Linked DNA regions of Homo sapiens: all the other regions are linked to region 3. The links are contacts of gene promoters, found by promoter capture Hi-C in human tissues and cell types (Jung and others, 2019). All regions are on one chromosome and are shown on one strand. Each heading gives the region's core, a stretch centred on a gene start or on the middle of the fragment in contact. The rest is flanking DNA. Distances are from core to core; before and after follow the strand shown.

What was found. The method cuts DNA at HindIII sites, captures the fragments that hold promoters and counts their contacts. A contact is called where the count stands out against the background at its distance.
Region 1: a contact is called between a fragment that was not itself captured here and the fragment with the promoter of SAP30 in region 3, in 1 of the 25 tissues and cell types used here (heart left ventricle).
Region 2: a fragment that was not itself captured here is called in contact with the fragment with the promoter of SAP30 in region 3 in 1 of the 25 tissues and cell types used here (mesenchymal stem cells).
Region 4: a fragment that was not itself captured here is called in contact with the fragment with the promoter of SAP30 in region 3 in 1 of the 25 tissues and cell types used here (mesenchymal stem cells).
Region 5: a contact is called between a fragment that was not itself captured here and the fragment with the promoter of SAP30 in region 3, in 1 of the 25 tissues and cell types used here (mesenchymal stem cells).

What each region holds. Positions count from the first base shown.
Region 1 is chr4:174,101,046-174,103,745 of GRCh38, reverse strand. All of the region lies in intron 2 of LINC02268 (long intergenic non-protein coding RNA 2268), which reads left to right. Among named protein-coding and RNA genes, the nearest start is that of LINC02268, 120 kb to the left of the region's middle. The HindIII fragment of the contact is 5,555 bases long and covers 1-2,700 here.
Region 2 is chr4:174,151,696-174,154,685 of GRCh38, reverse strand. The region is part of intron 1 of LINC02268 (long intergenic non-protein coding RNA 2268); the gene reads left to right. Among named protein-coding and RNA genes, the nearest start is that of LINC02268, 67 kb to the left of the region's middle. The HindIII fragment of the contact is 4,826 bases long and covers 1-2,990 here.
Region 3 is chr4:173,369,515-173,372,316 of GRCh38, reverse strand. It overlaps SAP30 (Sin3A associated protein 30), which reads right to left and starts at 1,363. Exons shown (of 4, transcript NM_003864.4): 1 at 820-1,363. The coding sequence starts at 1,134. It overlaps SAP30-DT (SAP30 divergent transcript), which reads left to right and starts at 1,619. Exons shown (of 4, transcript NR_183973.1): 1 at 1,619-2,025; 2 at 2,707-2,802. RefSeq lists enhancers at 253-552, 256-819, 1,903-2,142 and silencers at 673-1,052, 1,333-1,502. The HindIII fragment of the contact is 15,433 bases long and covers 1-2,802 here.
Region 4 is chr4:174,288,607-174,291,306 of GRCh38, reverse strand. The region is part of intron 1 of CEP44 (centrosomal protein 44); the gene reads right to left. Among named protein-coding and RNA genes, the nearest start is that of CEP44, 6.0 kb to the right of the region's middle. The HindIII fragment of the contact is 6,159 bases long and covers 1-2,700 here.
Region 5 is chr4:174,271,583-174,274,430 of GRCh38, reverse strand. All of the region lies in intron 1 of FBXO8 (F-box protein 8), which reads left to right. Among named protein-coding and RNA genes, the nearest start is that of FBXO8, 11 kb to the left of the region's middle. The HindIII fragment of the contact is 5,625 bases long and covers 1-2,848 here.

The sequences.
Region 1 (2,700 bases), core at 136-2,635, 730 kb before region 3:
GAGAACAAAGTATAACTGTAAACATTTTATTGTTTTAGATATTTAGTGTAATGGGGAATTCTAAAATAACATCTGAGTCATTATCTTCGAAATATTTCTAACTTATTTCTGTACTGAAAACCATTATTACTTTGAAGATTGTAGGTAACATGAAACAGTAGGAGTTATTTCTAACACTAATCAATGACTGATGAGAAGGCTCCATCCTGTTCAAGATTTCACCTTCCACAGGTTCCTATGGTGATTCACCCAAGATTAATGAGGCATTTTCCACAGAAACTGTTAGACTATGTTTTCGCAAATTTCTGAGATAGGTTGTGTGTGGCGGTGGGGTGCAGGAGGGTGCGCACCCCTGTCTGTCTCAGAATGTTTATGCACAAACATTCACAATAACTATCTTGAGAAGCCTCACAAGAATCTGATTTTCTTTCTGGCTATTTGTGAAATGTTTTGTTACATCGTAAGGTGTGAGGAAACTTTTAACGACAGAGAAGCTAGGTGCTCATCATATGGCCAGCAACAAACCCCCCTTTTGTTTATTTGGCTTTATGAATCTAAATACTTATGATTGTCTCAAGACTCGAGTAATCAAATAACAGTCTTCATTTTCTCTCATTGATAAAATTATCCAGCAGATCTAAAGAGATCATCTAAAGCGATAAAAAATACTGTTATTATGCAATTGAACCACCTAGACTAATAGGATGTTTGGTGTGTGAAATCTAACAGCAAAATAGATTTAAATTAAAATGAAGTTTCTCACTACTATAATATTCAGGAAATTTTCTAATATTACGCTAGAAAAAGTTCCTGCTATGAGAATATTTCTGAATATGAAATCTCTTTTTTTAAAAAAATTCCTGTACCTTAAGTTCTAAGAGCAATATTAATCTTTGCTGGAAATTATTTTCATTTTATTTGGAATAATTTTTTCAATACATATTCTCTTTTTGCTTTCTATGAAATAAATCTATTACCTGAAAGTTTGGTACATTTCAAGTTGAGGCATGAAACTGAGATTAATTTCTCTTAAGAAGCCTTTGCCCCCACCCCCACTGCCCAGTTTTGTTGCTCTAATTAATGATAAAAAAAAACAAGTTTCCCATGTTTTCATTGATGTAGATTACATACTTGCTTATTTTTAAATTATTCTACCTATAAACTTTGCTGGCTTGAGATCTGTGACATATGATCTTAACTCATCCTTTTATCTTCTAACCAGGATGGAAAAGTTTTTCTTTTGCTCCTTATAACAGTGGTGGTAAATCCAAAATAAGCAAGAATTCTGGTTTCTAAGAAAACGTTGCTCATGAGCCTTCCTACTGCATCTAACTAGGATAGGCTTTCAGTGTTATAAAGTTACCTCTATTTCTCAATAAGTCTCATCTTTCATAGAGTCAAGAAATTCCATTGTTGCCAGACATCTTAAATACCAACAAATCCAAACATTTTATTCTTCAATTAATGAACTGGGATTTAAAGATCTTAAGTCACTTGCCAGTATCCTACAAATGGGTCAGAACAGAGAACAGAATAGAATATAGATTTTCAAGCTTACATTTCTGTGCTCTTTTCACTACTTCATGTGGCTTCTTTTGAAACCTAAATCATCTTATCTGTGGTTAGTCCTTATAAATGAATTAGAGGTGATTAGGAAATTTTAATATTTTTAATATTTATTTGATTATCTTAGCCATTGAAATGTTACATCTTGTCCCACAATCAATAGGTGCAGGGTAGATTAGGTTATAATCTGTGGCAATGTTTACTGACTTTCTGAGCCCCAAATATCTCTTTTTTAAAAAACAGAGTCAGCCTCTGTCCCCCAGAATGGAGTGCAGTGACGTGATTATGGCTCACTGCAGACTCGACCTCCTAGGCTCAAGTGATCCTCCCACCGCAGTCTCCCCAGTTGCTGGGACTACAGGCACGTGCCACTATGCCCGGCTAATTTTTTATTTATTTTAATTTTTTTGTAGAGGCAGGGCCTCATTATGCTGCATAGGGTGGCCCAAATAATGTCTTGTGGGGAGAAAAGAAATAACTAATTTTCCCTGGGTAGAGTTAATTGTACAAATTTCTACAAATTCCTAGGGTAAAGAAGAATTTTGGTTCACTTTAGTTTCTTTCTCTCCCGCCTTGCCTCCCTTACTCCCTCTCTTTTCATTTCAGTTGACTTTCTGACACCAAAATATTCACTTCTTGAAAGATAAGACACTTTGACCCAAATGGGAGCCAGCTAGCTTGAGTTGATGGCCCCATAAAGACTCTCAGAATACCAGAAACAGAAAGTACCTTGGAGATCATCTGGCACGCACTTTTTACTTTACTGGTGAATTCCAGAGACATGACCTGGTTTGTCAAGGCCACAGGTATTGGGAGCCAGAGCTAGAGCCTGGGATCCCTACTTCTCTTTCTATCACATGATGATATAATGAGGTAGTCAATATGCACTTTTGTCCTAGATAAGAAGAAGAAATAAAGAAAATAAATAATGAACTATACCTATTTTTTTGAGCTTATCTGGAAACATGGATTCAGATATTTATGTGCAGTCAGTCATATTTACACACATGGGTGCAAATGTGGAAACTTTCGAATTTCATTAGATGTCATTTTTATAGCATTTTTTGATGATCATAGCAAAAATTTAATGATCTCCTTCCATAATGGTAAATATAATAAAGTACTATGGAAAGT
Region 2 (2,990 bases), core at 235-2,734, 780 kb before region 3:
ACACAGTGTGCTATCGGAGGCTGAGTCATCCCTGCTGCAAATCGAAACTGTGGATCTGAAAAGAATTTTCTCATCTAAACCAGAGCTTCAGTCTCCCAGGTGATGTAGTTTTTATGGTGTTATCAGTTTAAAAAATTTCCTCATAGAACGTATGCTTATAATAATCTAAATTCCAGTAAATAATATGACAGAAAAAGCATTTGGAAATATGGAATAGGAATTTTGATGACCACGTCTTGCTATGGAAAGTTAAACCAGCTCCTGGGCGAGCATGTTAATGAAGAAAGCTGTTAACTGTTATATTTTTATTCAGCAAAACAGCCATTAAATATTGTTTGTTTATAGTACTCCACCTTATTCAAAAAGGAATTTGAGGCCAAACATGTAGTAAAAGAGCATTTAAGATATGAGTAGTTTGAAAAAGGAAATTATATTTATCACATTAGCACAGGGTAGGGACATAAAAAATATCAAAATCCATGTGTCAGGCTTTTAATAAACAAATAAAAATTCAGTTTCGAGGTGTATCACATGTCTTCTGAATGGAATCCTAGAAATAAAATACGTATTTTGCTTTCTTTGTTGAAATAGAAAAGTTTAAGCTATATGGTTAAAAAGAATAAATATATGTCATTTACATATAAAATATATGCAATGTAATATGCATAACATAATTATTATATGTAGATATATAATTGTAGTACATATAAATATTGTACTATATTTAATTTATGTATGAAATATATATTTTAAATAATATATTTAATTAATATAATTAATATATTAATATATTTTCATTACTCATTTGCTTATCATATATCTATAAATGTAGCATTTTGAAATTAATTTGGCTTATAAACATATTTATAACTATTTAAATAATATAGGACTTTATTTTAGACAAAATATTAATTTTTCCAGAGTGACCTTATACAACTGCCATTCTCAAACCCTGATATTTGTGCTTATAACTTTTTTCATGACTTTATAATTTTTTCATTAGGTTTCTTAAAAATTGAATGTAGCTCCCCTGTTTCAAAGTATGGCCACATCATGGGGTCTCCTGGGCTTTAAATCACTTTCTGAATGTGGATGGGGTGTGTCTACTTATTCGTAGTTGGATTTATCTGAGAAAAACCTTTGTAGGAGCTAAACATATATATATTTTTTACATACCATATACAGATGATCATATTACATAGGACACATGTGATAAATTAATAAGGAGAACAAAACTTTAGGACAAAAGTTTAAATAATCTTATGAACATATTTCAGTCATATTTAAAAGCTGGCATAGAGGTGACTAAGTAAAAAAACTTGAATATTTTACAAACCACAATGTATATCTTACATGATCATGCTTATTCTTTAAGACACTTCCACTATGTATAAATGACAGTGAGAAAGGGGGGGAAATATCATATTACCTCTAAGGAGGGAAACCCTCTGTATTATAGTTAGCTGTTTGTTAAGCAAAGAGAGGAGGTTACAATTTATATCTTCCTGATGAAAAGATAAACTCAAGATTCCAAGGGAAAGAAGCTTAATTTTTATTCTTTTACATTTTGAAACTACATGTTGGAAGAAGTGCAGTGGGGTTTTTTTTTCTTCTGTTTTTGTTTTTGTTTTTGTTTTCTCCAATTTTAAGCAGGCTGTCTTCAGTGGCCAAAGATCAACGCCCTCACCCATTATTCCCAGGCTCCAATTGCTGCTTCCTGCTAGGTTTGCTGTAAAACCAGAAGGATGGACAAGTAGGATTGGCAGCACCCTGGTGTCCTCTTGTTGCTCCTCTATCTGGGGCTGAGCCACATTATTCTTAGAGACTTCCTACAGGAAATGCTCAAAATTTTAGGAGAGCCAAGACATCCACACATAACTCTGCCCTCTGTTTTGATTATATAGAATTTGTTTTCTGAACTTCAGAACCTAGTTCAAGAGATTGCTTCAAGTCATGCACGTAAAGGCTGAATTCTCTTCATAAAAGCCTTTTCAGTTTTTCTTTGTGAAGCTTTAGGCTAGGGATTACCATTCAGGCCACACTCTCTCTCTCCATGTGCTCATTTTTCCTACTCACAGAGCAGAAGCAAATTTTCCTGCATTAAGAGCAGAAAAGAAAACAAGATTTTGGAGATTCTGACTTATTAAAATCTTGAACTCTTCAAACTGTCTCTTCTGAATTGTTCATCAGGCTGAAAAATACTGATTATGGATAAGAAAATCAAAAGAGGAAACTGGAGCTTGAGGGCTGGTTTTGAGGAGTGTGGTTTGGGCATGGCTATGCCCATTTTAGCATTTCATTTTCACCTTCAGCACTTGCCTTGTTTCTAAGCTTGCCACTTCCGTGGGTCAACATTTATTGTGCAGTTACTATGTGCACATTTATATGACATTCTGGGCACAAGTTTTGTCAAGCAGCAATCTGTCTGACCTTTCCTTAATCCTTTACACTACCAAAGTTTTTCTATATTAAATGCCTACTATGGATTGCTCCTCAAGCAAAAAAGTATTTTGATAAACGTGATCATTTTCATGAGGACTGTGGTACCGTAAACCAAAGGAATGATCCAAATGGTAGAAGTTTATGATATTGAGGGTGATAACTAATTTAAGCTAAGTCAAACTTCAGCTTTTTTCCTGTTGAAATACTCAGAGAACTTTCTATCAAGCCCCTCTTGATTTTGACCAAGGAAAGTACAAATTATTAACCAGTCAAAGAACACTGGGTCTTTGTCCCATGTTCCTAATTATTCCTTGGTTAAGGTATCCTCTTCTATCATTGTTATCAATTGGACAGGAAGGTAACATTTAAAAAAATAGTGCCTTTAATAAAATTAATTAAATTAATCCTCATGCTAGTGCTTCTCCAACTTATTGAGGTGAAAATCTATCCCAAAGTTCTGATGCCCTTTATAGCACACCAGAAAATATTACATCATATGAAGTAGGAACATTTTTATCACAGCAGAAGTCTGACTATATATGAGTTTT
Region 3 (2,802 bases), core at 114-2,613:
CTTTTACATTTACTTCTAAGCCAAGCGCAAGATAAAAATATGCAGGACTTGTGGTAGGTTCTCGATACCATGTTATTCATTTACCGCTAGCCAGATCTCCCAAAAGTAGCAACGGCTGTTTCTAAAAACCTCATAGATGGTCAAACGAAAAGACGTGCAAAAAATCCTGATGGCTGCCAAGGGGATGGCAAAACCGCAGAGGCTACGTGCTCCCCACCATCGGAGTAGCTGCCCTCGGAGCTGACAGCGCAAACGCCGTTTACAACCCCGGCTCACTGCCAGGCGGCGGGTGAGCTCGGCTTCCCTCTCACTCCGCTCCGGAGGAGACGGAACACAGAAAAGAACAGGATCTTCCTTGTTCGTGAAGGTCCTCCGCTTTCTCCTAGACGACGGGATTTAGTACCGCCTGGGGCCAAACACCAGCTTGGGCAGCAAAACAAAGGCGCCTCCATTCCAGAAGAGCTGCCGGGCTGCAAGAAAACTACTCTGGGCCCTCAGTGCGCCGGTCCCCTTTGTTTCGTGTCCCGGTCGCAGAGGAGAAGGAAGAGGGAAGACTGCGCGGGAGAGACGCAGGCAGCGGGAGGTTGGGGGCCAGGGTGGGAAAGAAGAGGGGAACGACAGCCTGTGTGTGGTGTGTGTGTTGGGGTGGCGGTAGGAGTTGCAGCGACTTTGTTATTTGCTTCCAAACACAGACTCCACGAGACCGCACTGCAGCCAGTGCGGTTGTCTGGGGGACCCCGCCGACAACCCGTGCCTTTGCCCGGCTCCTGGGGCCCCACCGAGGGGCGGGAGGGCAGGGCGGTCCCGCGGTTTACTTACGCTCTTATCCAGCTCGATCTTCACCTTCTTCTGGGAGATGCTCTTCTGGATCCTCTTGCTGAAGCTGGCGTTGCCTGCCGCCCGGCCGCACCGCTCACCATCCTCCCGCAGGCAGCACAGTTGCCCGGGGCCCGGCCCGGCCGCCCCCGGGGGCCCAGCCGCTGAGACCGCCCCCGCGCCCGGCACCTCAGCCCCGGTGCCCGCGCCGGTCCCGTTCCCCGCCGAGGCGGCGGCGGCCGCGGCAGCGACCACTGCGGCCACTGCGGCGGCCGCATCCCCGCCGCGGCTCATCTCGTCAGGCGTGAAGCCGTTCATGTCTCCGAGCTCCCGAGGCCGGCGCTGACAGAAATCCCCTCTCTCCTGGCCGCTCCGCCTCTCTCCGCTCCGGCAGCGGCAATTCACTCTGCACACCAAGTTAGACAGCGGCACGGCCAAACACCAACTGTCCCGGGCCTGCTGGTCTCTGCTGGCACCGAAACAGTGGACAGTGCTGAGGGCCGGGACGCAGACTCGAGCGTCTCCTGGAGCGGGGACCCCGCTCACTGTCACATGGGGACTTCAGCAGTTGGACCGCTACGCCTCCGCCTCCCTCCGGCCCCGGGACCTGCGCAAGCGCGACGCGCCCCCTCCCGTCCCGCCCCTTTCTTTCTGCCGCGCGGCCCCATGGGAATTGTAGTTCTCTGCTGCAGAGTCAACCTGAGCTCCGCCCTGACCCCGCGCCATGAGGGACGGAGGAACTACTAATCCTAGCATGCATAGCGCGGCCACGGACCCACTTTTTTTTTTTTTTTTTTTTTTCAGTACCGGGAAAACAGGAGCGTGTGATTGGGGTTTACAGTGTTTTCTCTCGCTCTCTCTGTTTCTAGGGAATTCGGGCTGTGTTTAGCTGCTGGAATATCGTAGAATTGGTTTTCAGAGAAGTTCCTCGACTCCTGAGGCGAAACATAAAGGGATGGGAGTGGTGTGGGAAGTGATCGTGTGGGGAAAAAAAAGTTTCGAGCCCGTTTCGCATTTGTGGAGACAGAGTTTTTGGTGTGACCACTCTTTTGTGGGAAACCCAAACCAAGGAGAACTCAGGAGAATTGGCGCTCTTCGGTCCTGGAGGTTCCGCAGCTAACATCCCGGCTTGACCAACTATCGAGGCCGCAAATTAATAGGGCACCTCCTGGGAGGAAAACGCCCATCCTGACTTCTCAACTGTGACAGGTCCCCCTCACAAACGCCTTGCGGGGGGGTGGGGGGGCGTTTCTAAACACTTGCATGTTCTTACAAGGGAAATGTTTTTATTCTTGGGCGCACCAAGTTGGCCGCCTCCTGAGGTGGAGTACGGACCAGTTGACAACAGGGCTCCTTTTCACCTCCACGCCCAACCTTTTCCATTTCTCCTCAAACGGTTTTGGAGAAGGGCGGAGTCATATCATTTTAAAGGAAACTTGGAACCTCACCAATACAAACGCTGGTCGAATGTTCCCAGAAACTTCCCTGCATTAGCTCTACCGGGCGCGGGGAGCAGAAAGCGCATTTCCTGAGTCCTGAAAAGCGCGTGCGCGCCTGTGTGCTGCCGGCGTTTGGGCGCGCCTGCTTGTATGTATGTGTTCGCGGGCGCGCGCGTGTGTACGTGTGTGTGCGCGCGTACGCGTGTATGTTCCTGCGCGCTTGCGGGGACGTGCTTGTGGAGGGCGGAGAGAGGGATGGGCGTGGCTAATATGAAAGCTGCATCTTTACTAGTTAGCTACCATGCGTCATTATTTATCAAAAGATATATGCTGCTTAAACACAAATACGTTTTAAAATATATTTTAGGCAGTAGGGTTTTGGGTTTTTTTTTTGCAAGTTCTTTTGGTGAGTAAATTTAGTGATAAATGATTTTTTTTTCTTTTGAGACAGTTTGCTCTGTCGCCCAGGATGGAGTGCAGTGCAGTGGCGCGATCCTGCAACCTCCGCCTCTCGAGTTCAAGCGATTCTCCTGCCTCAGCCTCCCGA
Region 4 (2,700 bases), core at 123-2,622, 920 kb before region 3:
AAAGTATAGTAAATAAACAAAAAAAAGAAAAAAATCAAAGCATTCTACTACAATCATCAAATCACAAAGACAACAAACAAGAGAAAAACAGGAGAAACAGAAAGCAAATAGAAAACAATGAATAAAATGGAAACAATTAAGTACTTAATTATTAAAAATTATTACTTTAAATTTTTAATAATTAAGGGCTCTCAGTAGACATGGAATGGCTGAAATGGATAATAAAAACAACACTCAACTATACGCTATCTACAAGAGACTCTAACATTTAAGGACACACGTAGGCTAAAAGTGAAGGGATTGAGAAAGATATTCCATGCAAACTATAACCAAAAGAGAGCAGGGTGGCTATCTATATCAGACAAAATAGACTTTAAGTCGACAACTGTCAAAAGAGACAAAGAAGGCATTATATAATAGTAAAAGGGTCAATTCAATAGAAAGATACAACAACTAAAAATACATATGCACCCAACATCAAAGCACCTTAAAATATACAGTGAACATTGACAGATTTGAAGGAAGAAATAGATATCGATACAATATAGAAGGAGACTTTGATACATCACTCTCTATAATGTACAGGTCATCCAGACAGAATGCCAACAGCAAATATTGATAGAATTGGAGGAAGAAATAGATATCAATACAATACAGAAGGAGACTTTGATACGTCACTGTCTATAATGTACTGGTCATCCGGACAGAATACCAACAAGTAAATTGCAAACTATACAACACTATAGACCAAAGACCTAACATGCATATACAGAACATGAGACCCAACCATAGCAAAATAATCATTCTTCTCAAAAGGACATGAAACATTCTCTATAACTGATCACAGCCTAGGTCACAAAACAAGTCTTAACAAATTTAAGAAGACTAAAAACATTCTAAACATTTTGTCTGATCACGAGGGAATGAAACTAGAAATCAATAATAGAAAGAAAATGGAAAAATTCACAAATACAGGGGAATTAAATAACATACTATTAAATAATACTGGGTCAAAGAATAAATCAAAACAGAAATTATAAAATATCTCAAGACAAACAATAATAAAAACACAGTATACCCAAACATATAGGATGCAGTAAAAGCAGAATAAGAGAAGTGTTTATAGCAATAAATTCATTAAGAAGAAGAAAGAGGCAGGACACAGTGGCTCACGCCTATAATCCTAGCACTTTTGGGGGCTGAGGCAGGCGGGTCACTAGGTCAAGAGATTGAGACCATCCTGGCTAACATGGTGAAACCCCATCTCTACAAAAAATACAAAAATTAGCTGAGCATGGTGGTGCGTGGCTCTAGTCCCACCTACTTGGGACTCCCACCTACTCGGGAGGCTGAGGCAGGAGAATCACTTGAACCCGGGAGGCGGAGGTTGCAGTAAGCCAAGATCATCACGCCACTGCACTCCAGCCTGGTGACAGAGCAAGACTCTGTCTCAAAGAAAAAAAAAAAAAGGTCTCAATAAAACAACCTAACTTTACACCTCAAGGAACTAGAAAAAGAACAAACTAAATCCAAAATTAGCAGAAGGAAGAAAATAATAAAGATTAGATTAGAAATAAATGAAATAGAAAATTGAAAAACAATTTTAAAAATTGACAAAACTAAAAGTTCCTCTTTTGAAAAGACAAACTAAATCAACAAATCCTTGGCTAGACTTTAAAAATAGAAGACTCAAACAAAATCAGAAATGAAAGAGGACACAATTGATCCCACAGATATAAAAAGTATCATAAGGGACTATTATGAACAATTATATGCCATCAAATTGGACAATCTAAAAAAAAATGGGTAAATTCCTAGAAAAATATAACTTACCAAGACTGAATCAAGAAGAAATAGAATGCTTGAATAGACAAATAACAAAAAAGGAGATTGATGGAATAATCAAAAAATTCCCAACAAAGAAAAGCCAAGAGCCAGATACATTCTAGCAAACATTTAAAGAAAAATTAATACAAAACCTTATTAAACATATCTAAAAAAAAAAAAAAAAGAAGAGGGAACACTTCCAAAGTCATTCTGAGGCCTGCATCACCCTGATACCAAAGCCAGACAAATACACTACAAGAAAACTACAGTCTAATACATTTGATGAATATAGACGTAAAAATCCTCAATGAAATGTTAGCAAACCAAACACAACAGCACATTAAAAGAATCATATACCATGACCAAGTAGGATTTTTCATTGTGATGCAAGGATGGTTCAACATATGACAACCAACCAATGTAATATACTGCATTAATAGAATGAAGGATAAAACTCACATGGGCATCTGCACAGATGCAGAAAAAGCACTTGACAAAATTCGATACTCTTTTGTGATAAAAACTCCCAATAAACTAGGTATGGAAGAACCTTATAGCAAATTAGGTAAAGGAAAAACAAAATAAAGTCCATTTATGAGAAGCCCACAGCTAAGATACTTAAAGATAAAAAACTGAAAGCTTTCCCCATAAGATGAGGAACAAGGCAAGGTTGCCTACTTTAGCCTCTCCTATTCAGCGTAGTATTTTAAGTCCTAGCCAGAATAACTAGGTAAGAAAAATAAATTAAAAACATCCAAATAAAAAGAGAAGAGGTACAATATCTGTTTGCAGATGACATGATCTTAGATGTAGAAAACCTTAGGGACCCCAACAAAAATGTGAGAATAAACAAATTTGCCTTTAAAAAAGAAG
Region 5 (2,848 bases), core at 183-2,682, 900 kb before region 3:
AACCAAAATAATAGTTATCATTTAAAGAGGGCGAGAGGGATGAGTACGAAACTACCTTTTATTGTAAACTACCTACTATGGGTTAAGTTCCATAAATGTTATCCCTACTAAGTCCCATGGAATAAGAATTATTATCCGTTATTTTACTAATGAGAAGAATGAGGATCAGAAATCACAGGCTAATCAGATTCCGTGTTGGGGTTTGATGCTGATCTTTCTTCACATCAAAGCCTGTGTGCTTTCCACAAGAACAGCAGTAGCCTGAAAGAGCAGCTGCAGCTGGGACCAACGATGGAGGTAATAAACAGTGACGGGGTAAAAAGAGATGAGAACCAGTGGTGAAGAAACAGATGGTAAATTGCTTTTGTCATCCATGGGCTCCAGCGGTTCTGGGAATATGGTTTGTGGGTTAAGAATAAAAGCTTTGGACTCAGATAGAACTGAGTTTGAATCCTAAATCTTCCATTTTTCCAGCTTTGACTTCTCAGGCAAATTTGCTTAACCTCTCTGGACCACTATTTCTTTAGTAATGGTCTTCAGTCTGTATTACACTGAGCCCTAAGGTAATAATAATAATAATAATTCTTAAACTGAGTACATAAACTCAAACACACATCTTTTTCAAATTTACATGCCTGGATTCCACAACTAGGAGATTTGTAGTTACAAAAAAATTGTTAGAGGAATAAAAATAACCCTTGAATACTTTTTAGCCAGGTTTACAAATTTTTAATATTTTGCCACATCACCTTATTGTTCCATCTGTATAGACATAGACGTTACTGTTTTGCTGAACCATTTTGGAGTAGGTTGCATACATCACACCATCACACTTCAGTGTGTGTTCCCTAAGAATGAGGATATACTTCTGTATAGCCATTTCACAGTTATCAAGTTTAGGAAATTTAACATTGATACTATGATACCATATTTTTATCCAATCTTCAGCCCATATATCTAGTTTCTTATTTATCTCAATAATGTGCGACATAGCAATTTTTTTCCAATCCTGTTGACATACTGCATTTCGGTGGTATTGTTTTTAGCCTCTTTTAATCCAAAACTGTTCTTCCACCTTTTTTCTTTTCTTTTCTTTTTTTTTTTTTTAACTTTTATGACATTGGCATTATTGATTTATTTTTTAGGAACAGAGTTTTGCTCCGTCACTCAGGTTGGAGTGCAGTAGTGTAATCTTAGTTCACTGGAACCTCCAATTCCTGGCTTCAAGTGATCCTCCTGCCTCAGCCGCCTAAGTAGCTAGGACTACAGGCACATGCCACCACACTCATCTAATTTTTAATTTTTTATAGAGACAGGGTCTCGCTATGTTGCCCGGGCTGTCCTCAAGCAATCCTCTTGGCCTTGCTCTCCCAAAGCACTGAGATTAGAGGCATGAGCCACCATTCCCAGCCTGGCATTGGTGTTTTTGAAGGAAAATATTCTGTTATTTTACAGACTGCCTTTTGAGTTTCTCTGATATTCCCTATTAAATTCAGATTATGGATTTTTGGCTGGAATACTATATAATGATGTTGTGTCCTCAGGGCATCACATCTAGAGGCATATGATGTGCATTTGCCTCTTATTTGTAAATGTTAATTTTCATCATTTGGTTAAGGTTTTGTCTTATTTCTTAATTTTTTCTTGTAATTAATGACTGATATGTGGGAAGATACTTTGGGATTCTGTAAGTATTCCATTCTTTGTCAAACTCCAGATTCAACAACATCCATTGATAATTCTTGCCTAAATTATTTTTTCTCTGATGGTAAAATGATAATTTTTCTAACTACATTATTCTTTCTATCTTCTTTAATTAGAATTCTACTCTAAAAAAGAGCTTTCCTTCTCCTTTATGTTTTTATTGATCATCATCAGTGTAGACTCACAGATTCTTTTTTTATGTAATGGATTATACAGTTGGTCCTCAGTATTTGTGGATCTGCATCCAGTGTCATCCAACCACAATTGAAACTATTTGGAAAAAAATAGAAAGTAACAGTACAACAATAAATAATAATACAAATTTTAGAATACAGTATAACAACTATTTACATAGCATTTACATCTTATTGGATGTTATAAGTAATCTAGAGATGATTTAAAGTATACAGGAGGATGTATACTATGCCATTTTATACAAGGGACTTGAGCATTCATGGATTTTGGTATCTGGGGGAGGTGACATGAGGGGGTGATCCTGGAACCAGTCTACTGCAAATACTAAGGAGCAATTAATTCATTACTGTCATTTTTATTTTGATGTTCCAGGTTTGGCCAATAGAAGCCTCCTTCAAATTAGCTCCTAATGTCCTTTTGACGTTATCCCATTGCTTTTGTTTTGTTTTGATTTGCTATTAGTTCACTGAACACTCATAATCCAAGTTTAGGAAACATTGCCTTAGGAGTTTCTTTGTAGCCCCTAAGGGGGTCCCAAGTAAACTGGAAAGGTACAAGTTGAGAAGAAGATGCACCTTTTCACCATATTAGTGTATAGCAGAACTTTGATGAGTACCTCCTATAGGTAAATCCCCCAAATACATAATATATATAAGATTTTATATCTATTTAAATTAAGATTAAAATTTATTGACCAGTTACCAGATGAAATCAGGAAAAATAAATCAAGTAATTGCTATGCAAGTGTTTCAGCCACATTTTAATGCTTGAACATTGGATCTTTGAGGCAATAAGAAGTGACTTACAGATTTGTGCACCATATTCCTTCCATTGAGGTGATTGGTTTGACAGCCATTATGCTGGGCCAATTGTAAATATAAGGAGGGTGGTGGCAGGGAGTTTTTCTCTAATGTCATTCAATTTCTTTAGCAAAAATGCTTCTTCATTT